Regions from separate parts of the Homo sapiens genome. Here region 2 is linked to region 1. The links are contacts of gene promoters, found by promoter capture Hi-C in blood cells and fetal thymus (Javierre and others, 2016). All regions are on one chromosome and are shown on one strand. The core of a region is centred on a gene start or on the middle of the fragment in contact, and the rest is flanking DNA. Distances in the headings are between cores, read along the strand shown.

Evidence for each region. Contacts are between HindIII fragments. The CHiCAGO score rates a contact against its expected background, and 5 or more counts as called.
Region 2: a contact is called between a fragment that was not itself captured here and the fragment with the promoter of OAT in region 1, in 1 of 17 cell types (naive CD4 T cells). The highest score is 8.8, in naive CD4 T cells.

What each region holds. Positions count from the first base shown.
Region 1 is chr10:124,413,265-124,420,316 of GRCh38, forward strand. It overlaps OAT (ornithine aminotransferase), which reads right to left and starts at 5,659. Exons shown (of 10, transcript NM_000274.4): 1 at 5,609-5,659. RefSeq lists silencers at 5,219-5,758, 5,701-6,360 and an enhancer at 6,334-6,848. The HindIII fragment of the contact is 6,386 bases long and covers 4,330-7,052 here.
Region 2 is chr10:125,817,048-125,822,836 of GRCh38, forward strand. The region is part of intron 1 of UROS (uroporphyrinogen III synthase); the gene reads right to left. It overlaps MIR4484 (microRNA 4484), which reads left to right and starts at 2,693; the gene lies at 2,693-2,775. The HindIII fragment of the contact is 3,485 bases long and covers 2,798-5,789 here.

The DNA.
Region 1 (7,052 bases), core at 4,409-6,908:
CATACACACACACACACACACACACACACACACACACACACACACATATATGAGATTCCCAAACAAAACAATCTATTCTGCTAGGATGGTTGTTTCTACAAAACTTATCCTGAAAAATTGTAGCATAAAAGATATTGTTGACCAGGTGCGGTGACTCATGCCTATAATCCCAGCACTTTGGGTGGCAGAGGCAGGCGATCACCTGAATCGGGAGTTCGAGACCAGCCTGACCAACATGGAGAAACCCCGTCTCTACTGAAAATACAAAATTAGCCAGGCGTGGTGGTGCATGCCTGTAATCCCAGCGACTCAGGAGGCTAAGGCAGGAGAATCGCTTGAACTTGGGAGGACGAGGCTGCAGTGAGCCAAGACTGCGCATTGCACTCCAGCCTGAGCAACAAGAGTGAAACTCCGTCTCAAAAAACAAACAAACAAACGAAAAAGCTATTGTTAGCAAAAGGTAACTGAGAAACTAGAGAGAGTCAAACTACAAACTACAATCCGTTACTTGTATGAGTGTTAAAGTCTAAACATCACTGAGCAGGCTGGTGTTTACCCTGCCGCCCCATCACATAAGTCAGAGCCATAGCTACTCTCCCCAGTCACCCCCAGCCCTAAAACTAGCCCCTCCACAAGGCTTCACACACCTCTTTGTACCCAATTTACCATTAAGCATCCTGATAAGCCATGAAGTAAAAACTAAGCTATGAAAGAAACTAATAATTAAAAGGAAATTAGAGCATGTGCATAGGAATCACCTCTGGAAGGAAAAAAAAAAAAAAAGCTTAAAGATAAATTCATGATTAGGAGAAAGTTGCCAAAAACTAGGCATACTTATTCCATCTATACTTACTTTCTAAAAGACTAGTTAATTCATGTTTCAACAGAAGTCTACCAATGACAAGTCAAACCATGTATAATCTCACAGCCACTCTTGATTCGAGCTGCCAAATTAGCAAAACATAATACTTGGAGTTTGGCTTACTTCCCTTTAAACTTGGCACTACCCAGTAAATCCAGTATGTTCAGGAATTTGCAATTGCTAAACAAAATCCAGTACTCCGGTTTGCCAAAGACTCACTGACTATTTTTTCTTCCCACGGTTCAGTCTAGAATACAGATTTTTAACCCAAGATCCAGGGACAGTCTGCAGAGAGTCCAAAATCTCCTGAAATAAAATGCAGAATTACATGCAGACGTATATTTTTCCAAGAAGAAGGTCCATAACTTTCATCAGACTTTATCTCAAAGGGGTGGGTACCAACAATCAAAACAAAAGTGATGTAAGAATCATCCAACTGGAGGTAGCTGCTAGCAAAAATGTCTAACTGTACTATATGTAACTTCCCCAAAATACTACTGCTAAGTCTAAAACACTCATGTATGATTTCTTTCTTGGACTCTTTATGCTTTACTCAGTATGAATAAATTGTTTGATCAACTAAAAAATTAGAACATTAATTTTTGCCTATCAAATTAGCAGTAAAACACTCAGGCAATACTTAGTGGTGCTCTAAACCGTAACAACTTTCTAGGGCCAGGCAAGGTGGCTCACGCCTATAATCCCAGCGCTTTGGGAGGCCAAGGCAGATCACTTGAGCCCAGGAGTTAAAGATCAACCTGGGCAACATAGGGAGACCCCATCTCTATAAAAAATATGAATATTAGCCAGGTGTGGCGATGCGTACCTGTAGTATCTGGTACTTAGGAGACTAAGACTAAGGTGGAAAGATCTCTTGAGCCCTGAGTTCTGGGCTGCAGTGAGCCACGATCTGTGCCACCAGCACTCCAGCCTGGGCTACAAAGCGCTAAAAAAAAAAAAAAAAAAAAAAAAAAAAAAAAAAAAAGGAATATCAGAGATTATCTAAATTCAACATTCTTATTTTATATAAAAGTTATCTGCACAGCTAATTTCCAACAGAAATGGGATGAAAAATTCATTTACCTGTTAAGTTTAGGCAGTTTTATTAAAGAATAACTGGGGACAAAATAATATCATTCAAAACATTACTAATACTCATTCTTAAGGTTTTTGTTTCTTTTCACTTACAGATGGAGTCTCAGCTATGTTGCCCAGGTTGGCCTCGAACACCTGGGCTCAAGGGATCCTTCTGCCTCAGCCTCAGGAAGAGGTGGGACTACAGGCACACACCCCTGAGTCAGCTATTCTTAAGGTTTTTAAGATGAATTCTGGATATTTAATTCAACTGGGAAAGGTCAGAAACTGGATGAGCCATGATGTATCAAAATCCTGTAAACGCATTTCTATTAAAGAACCTTCTGTGTTCAAGTTACTGTGCTTGGCACTGTATGAGAAATCTTAGAGCAGAATTAAGATGGACTTAAAAATAGCCAACATCAATAACAGCCTCTTCCAAAAAGGTTTCAAAACCGGGAGAATCAAGCGGAAAATCCCGAGTTTGGAGACCGGGATTTTAAATTCTGTCTGTGGTTCTGAAGAGTAACTCTGGGTGATTCTGTCAATCTTTCTGAGCTTCAGTCTCCCCATTTGTAAAAGGAGGTTGAAGTGTCACTGAGGATGAAATGGGTTAATGTTACTGTGCCAAATCCAGCACAAAATGGCCACTCAGTTCCCTTTTGCCCTTAAAACTAGCCAGTTTCTGAAATATCAGAATCAACAGTGCCATGATTTATTTTTAAAACTGTTTAAAAAGACACACACACACCATTTTTCAGTTGATAAAAAATTAGAAAACACAGACAAGAAAATTACCAGCAATTTTACACTTGCATGATAACCATTAACATTTGGTTATTTTTTCTATGCATAATTAGCATCCATATTAGCTTTTTTTCACCCTCCCCTATAGAATTTACTATTTAAGTCCCTCCTAGAGACTCCCAGGGACTGTGCAGACTTGTAACGGGTCCTAACACTGCAGGCCACTTGTTTTTATGCCTATAAGTCTATACTCTAAGCTCCTTTAAAAAACAGTAAAATTCACTTTGCATTCCTAGAACCTAGCCCAGGTTGGGCATCCTGTGGGCCTTTATCAGATAAAGAGGTCAGTCTTACTTAGGACTCCTGAGGGAGTCAAGGTAGCAAGTGATCAAGACCATGGGATCACCTATCCCTGACCAGGTTGAGTCTAACTCTAAGAGGGGGTGTTCACTCTCTGACCTCATCTAGAATAACTCATCTCTTCATCAAGAGTTTACTTCATTAGATCTAATGGCCTTCAAAGGTCAAAATAATGTGTTCCAGGCAGCTATCATGCATCTACCTGACGCCCATACTCAGGTCCTGGAAATGAGAACAAATTGCTCTTGGCAAGCTAGAATTCTAACACTGAAGGTTTTATCCACGTAATTAACAGGGTCCTTCAGGCTACCATTACTCCCTCCATCTAGCCCATCCATCTACATTAGAACATACCTACAGTAGAATTTCCACAAAAGGCTGCATTTTGAAGTTAATTTAGCCTATACTCTTAAAAACTATTTTCTTACTCTAAAAGAATAGTCGGCGTAAAGTTGTCCAAAAGCCACTTAAAATATTCAACTTGAGGAGTAAATTTGTTCTTGCTATTTTGACAAATATTTACTTTTCCTGAGGTAACCATTCACAAATACAGGCCTTTAAAAAAAAAAAAAAAAAAAAGTTCTACCAACAGAAGTCTCTTTGACGTAATCAGTATTCTGGCTAAAATTCAAGCCAAGTGCATCATTGGCAAACAACTAGTTTTACTACTGAGAAAGGACCGGGGTCAACTACAGCACATCCTCCACACACATCCAAATTCGTGCATTCATCACTATTTGTAAATGTTTGAGATTTGAAAGGTCCTCAAGAACTCACTAAAGGGCATAAAATATGCACACAAATAACTGTAATAAAGGCACGCTATGGGGATAATACATATTAAGACAGCTGCTTTGAGGGAAAAATGTCTTTTAAAAATGTTTACTATTTAAAGTTATACTGGATTTTTCTTTGGGGGGGGGATGCAAAACTAATCTTAAACACCATGAAAAACTGTAAACCCAAAACTATAAGCTTTTTTTTTTTTTTTTTTTTTTTTCGAGACGGAGTCTGTCGCCCAGGCTGGAGTGCAGTGGCACGATCTCAACTCACTGCAAGCTCTGCCTCCCGGGTTCAAGCAATTCTCCTGCCTCAGCCTCCCGAGTAGCTGGGATTACAGGCGCGCACCACGATGTCTGGCTAATTTTTGTATTTTTAGTAGAGAAAGGGTTTCACCATGTTGGCCAGGCTAGTCTCAAACTCCTGGCCTCAGGTGATCCGCCTGCCTGGGCCTCCCATAATACTGGGATTACACAGGTGTGAGCCACCGTGCCGGGCTAAAAATAAGCTTTTTAATTTAACGCTCGTTTTTATGAAAAGATTCATCTAAAGACAGAACCAGGATATTCTAATGAAAGGAGTCTATTGTTATTTCACATGGCTAAGAGCGATTGATTACAATCTAAAGAACAGTTCCGGGGTTAACTGAAAGAACTAGCTTATCCACAGAAACCCTTTCAATCCCAGAAGGAGAAATTTAGAATTTGGAAACTGAACATTAGTCATTTCTTAAGGTAAAGCCACTTCATTCCAAAGTCACTGTCTGTTCGCCCTTAATTTATCACCGTAATTTATCTAAGAGGTAAAACTGAACACCGAAAAGGTAAGATGTAGAGTGACAAAAGGAGACGGTGGGTCACAGGGCGAGTGCCCAGGTGACTTCGGGCCTCAGTCCTCTCGCCAGCAAAGGGCGGACAATGACCCCTCCCGTCCCGCCCGGGAAGGCGATCGAGGAAACGCACTGGCCAGGCCCATTTACTGATGCTCAGCAGGGTTTGCAAAAAGCCCCCAACGGGAGGTTTTCATGCTGAAAGTCCTGTTGCCCCCCCATCCCCCACCATCTAATTAACCTGCACGTTACTGTAAGGAAGGTTCTGCTTCCGTAATTTTCTTTATTTCGACAGAGGCTGGAGAAAAAAAATCATAGGCTGGAAGAGGGGAGCGATGGGCAGGCCGATCTGCAGGGCGCAGGAGCAGGCCGGGAGGACCCAGCCCTCCAAGGCTGCATCAGCGCCCCCGCCGCGTGACCAGGGCCACCGGTTTACTGCACAGCTCCCCCGTCCCCAGAACGCAGCCTCCCCGCCAACCCCAGGAACCAAGGGTGCCCAAAGGCCTCCTACCCGGAACCCCGGGGCGCCTCGGGGTCTCTGGGCCGGGTGGGCCGAGTCCTGGCCTCCACAGGCCGCGAGCGCAGGGGGCGGCGGCTCCGCCCGGTCTGGCAGGCGGGGCTGCCACATCCTCAGCCTCTCCCTGCCGCCCGCCCGTCGGCCGCTCTGGGCTGGAACCAGGACTCCGGCCTGCAAGCCGTGGGTCGCCACGCCCCTGCCCCCTGAAGCTGCGCGCCGGCCGGAGACTCCAGGGCGCCCGGGTCCGAGCCGCCCGCAGAGTAAACGGGCCGCTGAAGCGGGGCTCGTTCCCCGGCCGAGGCCCAGCGCGCCCCCTCAGCCAGCATCCCCCGAACCCGGGCCGCGGCCACCCCGCGCCCGCCCGCCTCCCCCGCCGCTGTCAGGGAACCCCGGCCAGGGCCCGAACCAGAGCCCCAGGACAGCGGCGCCCAGACGGTACCTGACAGCGCCTGAGGACAACCGGGTACACGCGGCGTCTATGAAGCGCAACAGTGACGCCGGAGAGTCACTGCAACTTAAAGGCTGATTCTGCCCCGCCCCCAAGACACCCTCGCCGCTCATTGGCTGGGGCGGAGGGCAGGATACCAATCGCGTGGGTCCCGTCCTCCGCCCCGCCCTCCGGCCGCGCATCAAGGATCTTTGCTCCTCCCGCGGATTCGATCCGCGCTCGCGCCTCCTGAGCCCGCCGGCCTGTACCTGAGCTCAGGCCCCTCGGTCGCCTCCTCTGGCGGGACGAGAAGAGTCCTTGTCCGCCCTTGCTGACGAGAAGACTGAGGCCCGAAAAGGAAAAGTCTGTTGGGCCCCCCACTGCGCGGGCCGGGTGTGGCTGGAGGCCGAGAGACGTGAGGCTGGACCGCCCGCCCTGTGCTCCTGGAGGGAGGGACCAGCCCCAGCTCTGCCCCAGCCACAGCTGCGGGAGCCCCATGCCCTTGAACCCTGATGCGCCGCGCGGCTTAGTTGTGCCTCTGAATCCACCTCCAAAAGTCGTCGCTGCCTATGGAAAACACACTGCCCACCTGTTCGCAGCTGCTGTCAGATAATTGAGTGGCAGCAACCCACTCACAGTACAGATTTGCCTGTGGTGCCCTCCACAGCCGGTTATTAAATTCAGAACACAAAATAGATATTCCGGGACAACCTCATGTTAGAATCGGAAGGGACTTGGACTTCACTTAGCCCACAACAAGATGTTAAATATTGGAAAACAGAGACCCAGAGAAGGAAAGCGACTTACCCAGTCATCCAACAGTAGGGGCAGTCTGGTCCTGTGTGCCCCTCGCCACCCCTCTCAGAGGGCAGGCGCTGGCAGCTGCCGGCACCACACTCCATTAGACCACAATGACCAGTCGGGGGCCCAGCTGGAAACAGAGGGCACACTCCAATGTGAACATTTCCTAAAACGTGGTGGTGGGGGCCCGTGGTTCATGCCTGTAATCCCAGCACTTTGGCAGACCGAGGCAGGAGGATTGCTTGATCCCAGGAGTTCCAGACCAGCCTGGGCGACACAGTGAGACCCCGTCTCCACAAAAAAAAATAAAAATTAATCTGGTGTGGTGGCACACCTATGTTCCCAGCTACTCCAAAGGCTGAGGTGGGAGGATCACTTGAGCCCAGGAGGTTGAGGCTGCAGTGACCTATGACTGCACCACTGCACTCCAGCCTGGGCAACAAAGCAAGACCATCTATCTTAATCAACCAATCAATCAATCAATGTAGGCAAGTAAACCACAAGGGATGGAGAAATAACCTGGGTCTCATGCACCAGCGAGGGCCATTATCCATCCTAGGCCCAACGGCCTCCAAGTGGGGTTTCCAGAATTCCAGAACCCAAAGAGAGGAGTGTGGGAAAGGCTATCTGGTCACCAAAGTCATCAGCAACTGCA
Region 2 (5,789 bases), core at 3,290-5,789, 1.4 Mb after region 1:
TCATCTTCTTTCTTCCTGTAATTTCACTTCTAAGAATACTAAAGCAATACTGATAAATGTGTCCAAAGATTAACATAAAGATGCTCACACTAGAATTCTTTTGGGTCTCGTTGGGTCATATTAGGGAATGTGGCTCTTATCTTAATAGCAACGGGAAGCTTCTTGTTTATAGATGTATTTTTTTTTTTTTTTTTTTTTTTTTTAGAGGCAGGGTTTCACCATGTTGCCCAGGCTAGTCTCGAACTCCTGAGCTCAGGTGATCTACCTGCCTCGGCCTCCCAAAATGCTGGGATTACAGGAGTGAGCCACTGCACCCAGCCTTATAGATGTATTTCTCCTCTCTTTTCCTCATTTCTGCTTGCCCTTTTACCTTCTCCCTTCTCTAAGGTGATAATATAAGGAAGGAAGTATGGTGTCACAGAATAAGCACAGGACTAAGGGCCAACGGACCTGAGCTCTGGTCTCAGCTTTATGACTTAACCATGGTGTGATCTTGTTTTTTCCCATGTTAAATGGGAATAACCTCTGCCCTACCAAGCCTTAGGGTTGCTGAGTGACTCAAAGAAGATAAAAACAGCGAACAGATCTATTGAACTTACTGCCTCCCAGGCACTATTCTAAGAGCTTCACATGCATTAAGTCCACCTACGAGGCTTAGGAAGAAGCTGAGGTGTACAGAGGATGACACTCATCCAAAGTCTCAGAATTGCTACGTGGCAGAGCTGGGATTCACACCCAACCAGTCTGGCTCCAAAGTCTGTGCTTTTAACCCCCTACGCTATATTATGCCTCACATACACTTTGAATACGAAAATGTTTGGGAAAAATAGAGGTATAAAAATATAAAGTATCACTGTAGTACAAAGTGCTTAGTTTAGTTATGCAAACACCCCAAAGAAAAATCAATCTACCCATTGTAAACAGAGAAAATATTTCTCCTGGGTTCTAATCTGTGGTTCTCTTAGGTAATAAAACCGATGCTGGCATGAAGTTTAGGCTTCTGGATAATAAAGAGCTCCCTGAGATGTGTTGCAAATAAAAATCCAACTACTACCCTTATCCTTTATCTGACGTCACTGAAAGCATTTGTCTTCTTTTTTAATCCTGTATACAATCATTCCCAAACACTGAAAGCATTTCTAATATAAAATTAGGCCAGGACAGTGGTTCATGCCTGGTAATCTCAGCACTTTGGCAGGCTGAGGCAGGAGGATTGCTTGAGAGCAGGAGTCCAAGATCAGCCTGGACAACATAGCGAGACCCCATTTCTACAAAAATTTTAAAAGTTGTTAACAAGGAGCCGGGCATAGTGGCGCATCCCTGTAGTCCTAACTACGCAGGAGGCTGAGGTGGGAGAATCACTTGAGCCCAGGAGTTCAAGGTTGCTGTGGGCTATAATCGTGCCACTGCACTCCAGCCTGGGTGACAGAGAAGGATCTTGTCTAAATAATAATAATAATAATAATAATATAAAATTAAAAGGTTCTGTTGTTGATGATTCTTTGCTGTGCTAGAGTCACATATTATCAGGCTGATTGGGAAAGAAATCAATTGAGAAGCGTGCACAGATAGGTTAACATGTCGCCACCTTGGGCTTTAGGAAGAGGCTTGGTGGAGTAGAGGGTGTTTGCACAGGAGGGCCAGTGTCTGGGTTCTGGTCTAGGCTGCTCTTGCCTCAGTCTCAGTTTCAGATTCCTGTACATTGGAAAGGGGCTGTGAGCCTCTCCATTGTTGGCTTTTTTGATGGACTTTCTTTCCTGTAGTAGATGCTCATTATTTGCTCACCTTGTGGGAAAACAACAATTTCAATTTTACCCAGCATCTTTGAAACAGAAAGAATGATTAATTTTCCTTAAAGTAAAATGGAGCACTTGTCCTTCAAGTTGCCTGCTTAGGTCTCTCCCAAGCATACTCTACTTTCTTTCCTGTTCTAAAGTTTTTTGTTGTTGTTTTTTGAGATGCAGTCCTGCTCTGTCGCCCAGGCTGGAGTGCAGTGGTGCAATCTCAACTCACTGCAACCTCCGCCTCCCGGGTTCAAGCGATTCTCCTGCCTCAGCCTCCTGAGTAGCTGGGACTACAGGCATGCGCCACCATGCCCAGCTAATTTTTGTATTTTAGTAGAGATGGGGTTTCAGCATGTTGGCCAGGATGGTCTCCATCTCTTAACCTCGTGATCCGGCTGCCTTGGCTTCCCAAAGTGTTGAGATTACAGGTGTGAGCCACTGCACCCGGCCTAAAGTTTTTTAAAATAAACTTCCACTCCTGCTCTGAAGCTTGCCTCGGTCACTTTTTCTGCCTTATGCCCCCAGTTGAATTTTCTTCTGAGGAGACAAGATTGAGGTTGCTGCAGGTGTCTACTGATTTGCCACTGGTAACATATTTGGTGCCACGTGACTCAGATGGTAAGGGATCTCTATGCCTCGCTTTCTTCTGCTGGAGGCATCTGATCCCTGTGCAGTTTTTCTTCTCCTCCCTCTCTCCTGCTTACTAAACAACCCCCAGAACAATTCCTCTTGGCCATACGTGACTCTGCTCTCTGCCAGTTGATTTCTTAGCTCACTCTGGTGGGTGGCTCATGGGAGTGGGAAGGACCCTAGGGTCTGCATCAAGCAGATCAGAGGCACTATATGGCCCTCCTTGATAGGAGGCTTGAGACTGGTGAGGCTAGGGCCTAAAAACCGTGCAGTGTCTGGGGTTTCCTCTGCCTTTTTTTCCAATGAAAATAACGAAACCTGTTATTTCCCATTGAGGGGGAAAAAGGCGGGAGAAGCCCCAGCAGAAATGAAGCTGCTCCTGAAGCTTCCAACATGAAACTCACCTCGGCACTGGTAAAAAGAGGGCTCAACCTGTCTCTAGATTTACAGTCTAATGCTTGCTCTGCCATTTTACCCTCATACTTATGTTCATCAATCATTGATGAAAAAGAAAAGAAAAAAAAAATGACTGGAATAAGGGCACCTTACTGGTAAGAAAGAACCAAACCTCAAACCCGTACCTTCTATGTCATGGTGTTCTGGGTATCAGCAATAACAACAGTCACCCTTTTACTGAGCATTTACTCATGTTAATTACTGGGTGTATTAGAGTTCTTCAGAGAAACAGAACCAATGGCATATATTTACATCTAGAAAGGGATTTGTTATAAGGTATTAGCTCATGCAGTTATGGAGGCTGAGAAGTCCCATGATCTGCTGTCTGCAAGCTGGAGACTTGTTAGCAGGAAGGCTGGTGTTGTAGCCTGAAGGCCTGAGAGCCAAGGGTGTAGGTTCCAGCCTGAGTGTGAAGGCCTCAGCACCAGGAGCACCAAGGGCAGAAGATATCCCAGATCAAGCATGCAGGAGGAGACAGGACACATTCTTCCTTCTTTGGCTTTTTGTTCTATTTAGGCCCTCAACAGACTGGATGCTGCCCACCTACTTTGGGGAGGGCAATCCACTTTACTCAGTCTATCCATTCAAATGCTCATCTTTTCTGAAAACAACTTCACAGACACACCAAGAAATAATGTTTAACCAGATATCTGGGCATCCGTGATCCAGTCAAGATGACATGTAAAAGTAACTATCACACTGGGCTAAGCATTTTACATGCAAGACTGCAATCCTCACTTAAACCTGCAAGGTAGGTGGTGTTAGCCTTATTTGCAGGAGGTGAAACCAAGTCCCTGGGAGGTTTGAGTAACTTGTCCCAGGTCACACAGCACAGTAAGTGGGAGAGATGGAATTTGGATCCTGGTCTGAAGCCCATGCTCAGTCTCCTAACCACTTGCTACCATCCCTCTGCCTCATTAAGATAAATTCTGAGCTAAAGATGAACACTGAACGAGTGGTAAGCAATCTACTACCTGCTGAGTTCAGTTCCCTAGGGTCAGTACTGTATTTACTTTCACATTCACTATTCTAATTCACACTTTGACCATGAGCTCAACACTGGGAACTAATCTGAGGGCATAAAGTAAGGCTTTTTCCCCTACTTGTCTTACAAAAGTGATCCTGTTTACTGTGAAAGATTTGCAAACTACAAAAAAGTATAGTTCCTCAAAAAAATAAACATAGAATTACCATATGATCTAGCAATTCCCCTGCTACATATATACCCCAAAGAATTGAAAGCAGGGACTCGAACAGATATTTGATACTCATGTTCATAGCAACATTATTTACAACAGCTAAAATGTAGAAGTAACCAAAATGTTTACCGACAGATAAGTAGATAAACAAAATGTGGTCTATACATGCAATGGAGTATTATTCAGCCTTAACAAGGAAGGAAATCCTAATGCATGCTACAGCATGGGATAAACTTTGAAGACATCATGCTGAATGAAATAGTCACAAAAGGAAGAATATTGTGTTACTCCACTTACATGAGGTTTCTAGAATAGTCAAATTAATAAAGATGGAAAGTAGAAAGGTCATGGAGGGAAAATAAGGGAGTTGTTTAACTACAGTTTCAATTTTGCTAGATGAAAAGAGTTCTGCCAATGGATAGTGGTGGTGATGGTTGCACAATGTGAATGCACTTCATGCCACTGAACTGTATCTTTAAAAATAGTTAAGATGGTAAAATGTATGTTATGTATCTTTTACCACCATAAAAAAAGTATAAAGAAACAGGAAAAAAAATTGGCTATGGTATCTCAGTGCAACTCTGTTGATATGTTCACATGGTCTTTCTGAGTCTTTTTTCTAATCTTAGCCTTTTGATGGGTCTTTTTTGACAGCTTCCTCTCTTCTCCATTACAGGAACATGTTTTTGCAGTTGTGCGACCCAAAGAGGCCATTTCAAGCTGCCCCATCAGATGTGGAGCGCTGATGTGTAAGTATTACTTTAATATCCATGACATGGCTGGGTAGACAAGAGACTCCCAGGAAAGACCGAAATCACAGAACACGATTATGGGCAATCTGGGCTCCTGGGGACCTTTAGGGCACGCCATCTCGTACTGATGAAGGATCACTGATTTATCAGATGTTACCCTGCTTAAACAGAAGCAGCCTATTAGCGCAGCTCACACCATTCCTAGAATCAAACATATCCAACCCACCCCCCTCATTTTACAGAGAAAAATCAATTGAGAACCGCAGATCTTATTCCTAGAAAGCTGATGAACCCTGTTTCTCTCGCAATGGGAAGACCTGGCTGCCCCAGGCTGCATCCCCACCTGCCACAGGGGCTGGCGCTCGCTCTGCAGTTGGCCGCAGTCCCCTCCACTCTTCTCTCCAAATAGGCTCGGGTCTTTAACCTAGACTACCCCACTGGCCCCGAAGCATTTTTTTTTTTTTTTAGATAGGGTCTACCTCTGTCGCCCAGGCTGGAGTGTGGAGTGCGGTGGCGCGATCTCGGCTCACTGCAACCTCCGTCTCCTGGGGGCATGCGATTCTCCTGCCTTAGCCTCCTGAGTAGCTGGGACTACAGGCGCGCACCACCACACCTGGCTAGTTTTTGTATTTTTAGTAGAGATGGGATTTCGCCATGTTGGGCAGGCTGGTCTCGAACTCCTGACCTCAAGTGATCCACCCATCTCGGCCTCCCAAAGTGCTGGGATTACAGGTGTCCGCCACCACGCCCGGCTAATTTTTGTACTTTTAGCAGAGATGAGGTTTTGCCATGTTGGCCAGGCTGGTCTCGAACTCCTGACCTCTGGTGATCCACCCGCTTTGACCTCCCTAAGTGCTGGGATTACAGGCGCGAGACACCGGGCCCGGCCCCCCGCCGAAGCATTTTTAACTGCGGTGCCGGCTTTAAAAAAACTTTTAGGTCAAGAAATGCGCTCCAGAAGCTCGGCG